Linked DNA regions of Homo sapiens: all the other regions are linked to region 1. Evidence: promoter capture Hi-C in 16 types of primary human blood cells and fetal thymus (Javierre and others, 2016). All regions are on one chromosome and are shown on one strand. Each heading gives the region's core, a stretch centred on a gene start or on the middle of the fragment in contact. The rest is flanking DNA. Distances are from core to core; before and after follow the strand shown. Region 1 holds the start of OSGEP (O-sialoglycoprotein endopeptidase). Region 2 overlaps TEP1 (telomerase associated protein 1). Region 3 has its middle 13 kb from the start of RNASE11.

Evidence for each region. The method cuts DNA at HindIII sites, captures the fragments that hold promoters and counts their contacts. A CHiCAGO score of 5 or more calls a contact.
Region 2: a contact is called between a fragment that was not itself captured here and the fragment with the promoter of OSGEP in region 1, in 5 of 17 cell types (M1 macrophages, M2 macrophages, endothelial precursors and 2 more). The highest score is 7.8, in M1 macrophages.
Region 3: a fragment that was not itself captured here is called in contact with the fragment with the promoter of OSGEP in region 1 in 1 of 17 cell types (megakaryocytes); the score reaches 5.6 in megakaryocytes.

The regions. Positions count from the first base shown.
Region 1 is chr14:20,453,393-20,456,167 of GRCh38, forward strand. It overlaps OSGEP (O-sialoglycoprotein endopeptidase), which reads right to left and starts at 1,420. Exons shown (of 11, transcript NM_017807.4): 1 at 1,177-1,420. The coding sequence starts at 1,291. APEX1 (apurinic/apyrimidinic endodeoxyribonuclease 1) reads left to right here and starts at 1,834. Exons shown (of 5, transcript NM_001641.4): 1 at 1,834-2,002; 2 at 2,186-2,311; 3 at 2,522-2,709. The coding sequence starts at 2,254. RefSeq lists a silencer at 1-70, promoters at 1,333-1,777, 1,407-1,944, 1,609-1,943, enhancers at 1,368-1,457, 1,878-2,097 and cis regulatory regions at 1,404-1,734, 1,665-1,820, 1,691-1,732, 1,729-1,734, 1,745-1,777 and 2 more. The HindIII fragment of the contact is 3,687 bases long and covers 1-1,939 here.
Region 2 is chr14:20,380,722-20,383,421 of GRCh38, forward strand. It overlaps TEP1 (telomerase associated protein 1), which reads right to left. Exons shown (of 55, transcript NM_007110.5): 27 at 2,453-2,632; 28 at 1,902-1,994; 29 at 1,503-1,635; 30 at 1,192-1,342; 31 at 832-965; 32 at 592-680; 33 at 210-324. Among named protein-coding and RNA genes, the nearest start is that of TEP1, 31 kb to the right of the region's middle. The HindIII fragment of the contact is 2,872 bases long and covers 1-2,700 here.
Region 3 is chr14:20,574,012-20,576,711 of GRCh38, forward strand. No RefSeq gene overlaps it. Among named protein-coding and RNA genes, the nearest start is that of RNASE11, 13 kb to the right of the region's middle. The HindIII fragment of the contact is 788 bases long and covers 881-1,668 here.

The DNA.
Region 1 (2,775 bases), core at 170-2,669:
TTTCACTCTTGATGCCCAGGCTGGAGTGCAATGGCACCATCTCGGCTCACTGCAACCTCTGTCTCCCGGGTTCACGCAATTCTCCTGCCTCAGCCTCCCAAGTAGCTGGGTTTACAGGCATGCGCCACCACGCCCAGTTAATTTTTTGTATTTTTTAGTGGAAACATGGTTTCTCCATGTTGGTCAGGCTGGTCTCGAACCCCGACCTCAGGTGATCTGCCTGCCTTGGCCTCCCAAAGTGCTGGGATTACAGGCGTGAGCCACCACGCCCAGCCGTGTTTGGTACTTTCATCTAATCTTCAAGACCTAATGATACAGGTATTATTCCCATTTTAAAAACAAAGACCAGGCCCGAGCGGTGGCTCATGCCTGTAATTTCCACACTTTGGGAGGCTGGGGTGGGCGGATCATCTGAGGTCAGGAGTTCGAGACCAGCTTGGCCTGGTGGAAACCCCGACTCTACTAAAAATACAAAATTTAGCTGGATGTGGTGGCGCACACCTATAGTCCTAGCTACTTGGGAGGCTGGGGTAGAAGAATCGCTTGAACCTGGAAGGCAGAGATTGCAGTGAGCCGAGATCGTGCCACTGCATTCCAGCCTGGGCGACAGAGCAAGACTCTGTCTCAAAAAAATAAAATAAAATAAAAAATAAAGACCAAATGTCCAAAACAAAAATATTTAATATGAATATAGCAAAGCCAGCCAGTTCTGTCTGACATGTAAGCCGGGAGTCTTTCCACTCTCATCTCTCTACTCATCCTAGAATATTTCAAAAAATAATTTTTTTTTAAAAAGGGAGTGTATATTCAGGGCAACTGGAATCTATACTCCTGCTAAGCGTTTTTTAAACAGAATATTTCGAGTCCATCTCTATTATACTGTTTATCATGCTGTAGTATAAACATCTATTTATATGTCTGACTCCACAGCAGTATAACATCTATTTCTGAATACTTAGCACATAAAATGCGCTCAGTAAAAGGTAAATGAACTCATCAGATCCACGTCCAAGTGCCTGTAACTCTTCTAGTCATCAGCCTTGTGACGTTAATAATGTCACATAATTTCAATGAGACTCGGATCGAAAGCTGCACCTCACTAGTATTTAGGAAGATGGAAGGCTGATTCTGTGCGGGGAAGTGCGCGGAAAACTCTTAAGTCCCCTACTCACCAACCTGTGCCAGGAGGCGTGACGTAAGTCCGCCGCGGGTTCGCCAGCACCTTGCCATCCCGCACCACGCCCACGCCAATCTTATTGGCGCTGCCTTCAAAACCCAGCACCGCCGGCATGGCGGAGGCTGGGAGAAAACGCCGACAGGACTCCTGGCAATGTCAGGAGCTGTGGAGGTCCTCACTAGTCCGCGCTGGGCCGCAGCTTTCCGGAGCGCAGAGGAAGCTGGCCAGCCTGCAGATAGCACTGGGAAAGACACCGCGGAACTCCCGCGAGCGGAGACCCGCCAAGGCCCCTCCAGGGACCTGTCTTCCTAACTGCCAGGGACGCCGAGCCAACTCTGTGCCTTACATTCGTATCCGTTTTCCTATCTCTTTCCCGTGGTCCAGCCCAGCCTTCTCCACTGTTTTTTTCCCTCTTGCACATAGTTAGAATCTTAAGTCAGTGTCACACAATGTGCTGTGCATCTGGCACAACGATAAACAGCCCGAGGGAGGGTTGGGGACCTAAGTGTCCTAGAGAATTAGAGGAGGGAGGCGAGGCTAAGCGTCTCCGTCACGTGGTGTCAGACAGACCAATCACGCGCATTCTTCGGCCACGACAAGCGCGCCTCTGATCACGTGACCAGGTCCGCTACCCACGTGGGGGCTCAGCGTGCACCCTTCTTTGTGCTCGGGTTAGGAGGAGCTAGGCTGCCATCGGGCCGGTGCAGATACGGGGTTGCTCTTTTGCTCATAAGAGGGGCTTCGCTGGCAGTCTGAACGGCAAGCTTGAGTCAGGACCCTTAATTAAGATCCTCAATTGGCTGGAGGGCAGATCTCGCGAGTAGGGTACAAGGCACTATGAAATGATCTAGTTTCGTGGGTGAGGGGCTGAAGGGCCTATGATGCACGGAGGCGGGGAAAGGATTTAGAGATAACGTGGTTTGAAAGGCGGGACCTGGTGCGGGGACGCTCTTGGGAGGAGTCTTCTCCCCAGCCTTAGCTGGTTTCATGATTTCTTTGCGTCTGTAGGCAACGCGGTAAAAATATTGCTTCGGTGGGTGACGCGGTACAGCTGCCCAAGGGCGTTCGTAACGGGAATGCCGAAGCGTGGGAAAAAGGGAGCGGTGGCGGAAGACGGGGATGAGCTCAGGACAGGTAAGGGAATGAAATCAGCCCTTCTTCCTAGAAGCTGCGGCGGGGGTGTTTGTCATTCCCTTGATGTACGGTAAGTACGGGCCGACTCATTTTTGCAGGGGTTTGTGAAGAAGTCGCAGGAACCGTAGGCTTTCGTTGGGTCTATAGTTAACGCCGGATCGCAGTTGGAAACCACCAGCTTTTTGTCAGTATATATTACTCATTTTATAGAGCCAGAGGCCAAGAAGAGTAAGACGGCCGCAAAGAAAAATGACAAAGAGGCAGCAGGAGAGGGCCCAGCCCTGTATGAGGACCCCCCAGATCAGAAAACCTCACCCAGTGGCAAACCTGCCACACTCAAGATCTGCTCTTGGAATGTGGATGGGCTTCGAGCCTGGATTAAGAAGAAAGGATTAGATGTGAGTGGAATTTGAGGGAAAGAGACATTTTTTAGTATTGAATGGTCTTAGGGTTTAGTCACCCCT
Region 2 (2,700 bases), core at 88-2,587, 73 kb before region 1:
AAGTTGAAGAATCTCTGGTCCAAGAGATCAAGGTGAAAGGTCTCCTGAGAGTCACGTGCTCACCCTCTTGGCATTTTCAACTCGAAATGGAAATTTGAATCTTTTTTCCCTGACACCCACACCCCTGCCCCAACCCTGAGCAGGGCCCCCATAAGCACACCCAGGAGTCCCATATCTCAGAGAAGAACCCAGCCAGTGACTCATCTCACCATAGAGGGCATGGGCCTCCAAGAGCCGAGAGACCAGACCCAATTCCAAGTGTGCAGCCACCACATGGAGGTTGGTAAGGAACTTCGAAAGAAGTCCACGGTTCCCGCTCTGGAGCTGAGAAGGTCAGATTGAATTCATTAGGGATATGAAGGGGCTGGTGAGAAGGGACAGTTTAGTCTCAGAACCTGGATACAGAGATAGGATCTGAGCTGGGACAAAGGACTTGAAGAAGAAGGGCAGGAAAACTGAAAGGAAAGAGGTCAAGGGAGTTTGGGAGGGGTAATGGCGGCGGTGATGGTGGAGATGGTAACGGGGAGAGGGGTCTCAGAGCAACCAAAGCACTCACTTTGGGAAAGGTGTCTATGGGGTCTAGGAACTAACCAGGTGGTAAGGCAGGTCTCCCAGAGCCTCAGGAGGGCAACTTCGGAAGGTGCCTGAGGCATCAGCGTCACATGTCTTCCAGAGCTGAGCTGCATGAACAGATATTGAGAAAGGCTCAGCCCTGCATCATTCCCAAGGGCAGTAGGTGAGCTGGCCAGCAGATGGGAGCACAGTGGGTGGTCCTGGCCTCCAGGCCCAAGCCCCACACTCAGTGCCCAGGCTGACTTGGGCTGCAATCACCTGCAATGAGGATGTGTGCCGTGTCCTCTAGCCCTGGCCTCTTCCCATAGCAACGTTTAGCTGCTGTTCTCAGGGGCCCATCAGGGAGGCACAGCCGGGCACCAGGGCGCTCCAGAGGGCCCTCCCCTAGCAAACTGTCCTCGTGTGAGGAAGGGAGAGAGAAGAAGGAAGAGGCCTGTCAGTGAGCTTCCTGGCACACAGTGGGCTCCTATTCCCCCCTCAAATAGCGGAAACTGGAGCAGCTGGAGCAGTAGCTCATTCATGGTCTGGGAGCCAGTTGTTGAAGCTATACAGAGGGCCCCGGCTCAAAGAAGGGAAGGCACAGAGAGGTCAGCGGGAGCTCTGCTGGGGCACCTGTACCTGCGCAGACTCTGGACGAGGCAGGCAAACGGGCCCATGGGGTAGGGGTCTCCACTGTTACCAGCAGCCACTGCTTCTTCCCAGCTCTTAGTCCCCTTCGGTAGTGTCCGCCACACACTCAGCACTCCGTGCAGCTGGTCCACAGTCAAACCTGAAAACTCAAGCTCTCTGAGGCCCTCATCTAACCATACGGTGTCCCCGCCCCCACCACACCCAGTCTCTCCTTGAACTGCCTGCTGAGACCCCAAGGGAACCAATGTAATCCGAACCCTGGCCCTCAGCCTCCCAACCAACCCACCCCAAGCACTGACCACTCCGTGTGACTTCTAGGGCAGTCAAGGCCTGGGGAAGGACATCAGGCCCGTGCTCCTTCTCCAGTGTGCTCAGGATGTGCTGCAGCAGCAGGGGGACAGTGGCAGGCAGGGTCCGGAGTCTCTCAGACACCTAGGATGGCGGGAGGACAGCCTTGTTCAGTGCAGTGGGAGGAGAAGCAGCTTGGCTTGTGGGATAGGGAAGGGGCAGCAGGAGGACAGTGTGGAGGAATGAAAAAGTAAAGAACAACAGTAGGAGGGAAGTGAGGCGAGGTATGAGGCGAGGATAGGGAGTGGGTGATCACAAGACAGCAAAGGACGTGGGATAGGGATGAGACAAAGCAGCTGAAGAGAGAATGGGAAGTAGTGATTAGGACTTGGAAGGTGATGAGAACTGACCTGCTCATACAGCGTGAAGAGCCTCAGGTGATCGGTGACCAAGCGCAGGTAGAGCGGCCGGCCTGATTCCCGCTTCACCAGCAGCAGTCGCATCTGGCAAGACTCAGGACTCAGGGTGGGGTCCAGGAGGGCTGCCCGCAGCCAGCCCTCTGCCCCAGCACCAGCCCCTCTGCCAGGCAGCTCCTCCTCTGAGAGTCCCCAGCAGACGCCAGGTCCATGGCATCATCCCAGGACACAAACCATCCCTCTCCTACGCTGCTCTGCCCAGCCAGCCCTGCCAGAAAACCCCTGTGGCTCGGCCTACCCCACCAAAAACCACTTGACTCATCCCCTCACCCCGAGAGGCCCTGGAAAGGCCATTCACCGGGGGAAGAGGGCTGGGTGACATGATCAGGAATCACAATTTTCTTATTAACAACTTCCCATGGACAGAATTTCTGAGAAAACAAAGGAGCAGGTCTGTGCAAGGCAGCTAGCGGCCTCGGCACCCCAGGTCCTCATAGCTCCCAGATTCACCCCACACACCCACCGGCCCCGGCCTAGAACCCAACCTGGTTGTTAAATGGTGACTCCTCCAGCCGCTTCCCGTACAGGGCCAGCTCCTCTCTCACCAGCCGGGCCCGAGCAGAGGCCTCCAGAGGCCCCAAGGCCAGCACGTGGGCACCCTGGCTCTGCTCAAGGGTCTCCCCTAGGCCTGCATCACTAGACACACTCAGCACCAGGTGTACACACTGTGATATTTGGGCAAAGGGGCAGGAAGGTAGAAAGAAAAGGAGAACCACATTGGAGAGGCCTCTCT
Region 3 (2,700 bases), core at 25-2,524, 120 kb after region 1:
ATTTACAATAGCCCAGTTATAGAATTAACCTAAGTGCCCATCAATGTATTAACAAATAAAGACAATGTAATATATATAAACAATGGAATACTATTCAGCCATAAAAAAAACAATGAACTTCTGTCATTTGCAGCAACATGGATGGAACTGGAGGTCATTATGTGAAGTGAAATAAGTCAGTCACAGAAAGACAAATATTGTACATTTCATTCATATCCAGGAGCTCAAAAAGTTGATCCCATGGAGGTAGAAAGTAGAATGATGGTTACCAGAGACTGGGAAAGGGTGGGAAAGGAGGGGTAAGAAAGGCTAGTTAATGGGTAGAAAAAATACAGTTAAGTAGAAGGAATAATTTCTAGCATTCAATAGCATAGTAGGGTGACTATAGTTACCAATAATTTATTGTACATTTCAAAATAGCTAGAAGAAAAGACTTGGAATGTTCCCAACACAAAGAAATGATAAATGTTTGAGGTAGTGGATATCCTAGTTACCCTAATTTGATATTACACATTGTATGCATGTATCGAAGTATCCAGTGTATCTCATAAGTAGATACAATTATAATGTATTAATTAAAAAAGAAAGGAAAAAAAAAAAGACTGGGAACATCTTCCAGCCAAGATGGATAACACAGACCTGATTTACTTCCCCATCCAAAACCATAAAAAAACTAACAAAAAGCATTAAAACTTATTTTCAAGACACTGAACTTGAGGCCACGAAACACACTCATCATTGAGAGAGAGGAACCAAACAAGGTGAGCCCTACAATCACTCAGCTTGCTGTCTATAGAGATTTTAGGCAAAAGTAAAGGAAGAGTAAACTTAGAGTCTTCAGACTACCTGAGTTCAGGACATGAAACTGAGAGGTCAAAGAAGCTTGAGCCTTTAGGATAGAACATGTGAGATGAGAAAGCTGCATGGAGACATAACCTTAGAGATCTGCACAGGGCTCCTGTAATGGTCAATACCGAGTGTCAACTTGATTGGATTGAAGGATGTAAATGATTGATCCTGGGTGTGTCTGTGAGGGTGTTGCCAAAGGAGATTAACATTTGAGTCAGTGGGCTGGGACAGGCAGACCCACCCTTAATCTGGGTAGTAGTGGTCGATAATTAACTCCGGACTAAGCGCTTCTTCAGAGCTGTCTAACAAATCATAAAGTCAAGATCCAAAAGGATCAAAGTGGTTCCAAGTAGCTTAAACGTATCCTTGAACAACACTCAAGAAGATTTATAGGAATATACAAATATTCCTACAAGGTAAGCCAACAATGTAGAATTCAAAACATCTGAAATCCAATCAAAGATTACCAAGCATGTAAAAGAGCAGGAAAACACAAACCTTTATGAGGAGAACAATCAGTCAATGGAAACCGAACCAGAGCAATTACAAATTTCAGAATTAACAGAGAAACAGTTACCACAACTGAATTCTACACAGGCAAAAGAAAGGGTTGAGTTTTAGATGATTAAAAAAAAAATCAAACTTTTAGAAATAAAAACTACAGTGTGTGAAATTAAAAAAAATATACACTGGTTGCGATTAATGGCAGATTAGAAATTGCATAAGAAAAAAATAGTATACAATAAATGCAAGTAGCCCTGGAGTCTCTAAAGGGGAGAACTGGGGAAATTAAATTTTTTTGAAGATATAATGGCCAAAAGCTTTCAAAACTTGATGAAAAGTATACATTCACAGATACAAAAATCTCAGCAAGTCCCAAGAACAAAACATCAAGGTGTATCATGCTCCAAGTGAGAGGGGGAGAAAACAGTGATAGGGAAAACCTTAGAAGCAATCTTACAAAAAAAGACATTGTTATAGTCAGCGCCAGGCATGGTGGTTCATACCTGTAACCCCAGCACTTTGGGAGGCCCAGGCAGGTGGATCACTTGAGGTCAGGAGTTTGAGACCAGCCTGGCCAACATGGTGAAACCTCATCTATACTAAAAATATAAAAATTAGCAGGGCATAGTGGAGCATGCCTGTAGTCCCAGCTACTCTGGAGGCTGAGGTGGACAAATGGTTTGAGCCCAGGAGGCAGAGGTTGTAGTGAGCCGAGATCGTGCCACTGCACTCCAGCCTGGGCAACAGAGCAAGACTGTCTCAAGAAAAAAAGAAGGCTAGGCACGGTGGCTCATGCCTGTAATCCCAGCACTTTGGGAGGCCGAGGCAGGTGGATCATGGGGTTGGGAGTTCAAGACCAGCCTGGCCAAGATGGTGAAACCCCATCTCTACTAATAATACAAAAATTAGCTGGGCGTGGTGGTGCACGCCTGTAGTCCCAGCTACTTGGGAGGTTGAGGCAGGAGAATCGCTTGAATCCAGGAGGCAGAGGTTGCGGTGAGCCGAGATCGTACCATTGCACTCCAGCCTGGGCAACAAAAGTGAAACTCTGTCTAAAGAAAAAAAAAAAAGAAGAAGATACGTTATGATCAGAGAAACAAAGATAAACTTGACATTAGATTTTTCATCTGAAATAACATAAGAAAGAATACAGTGCAAAAGCATCATTAAAGTTCTGAAAGTATGAAAAATGAAATTCCTGCAGATTCTACACTTTGCAAAAATATCTTTCAAAAACTCAGGCAAAATAAACACAAAACAAAGAATTTATCACCAGCAAATCCACACTGCAAGATATGTGTTAAAAAGTTATACAGGCAGGAAGAAAATGGAAATCTGCATCTATAC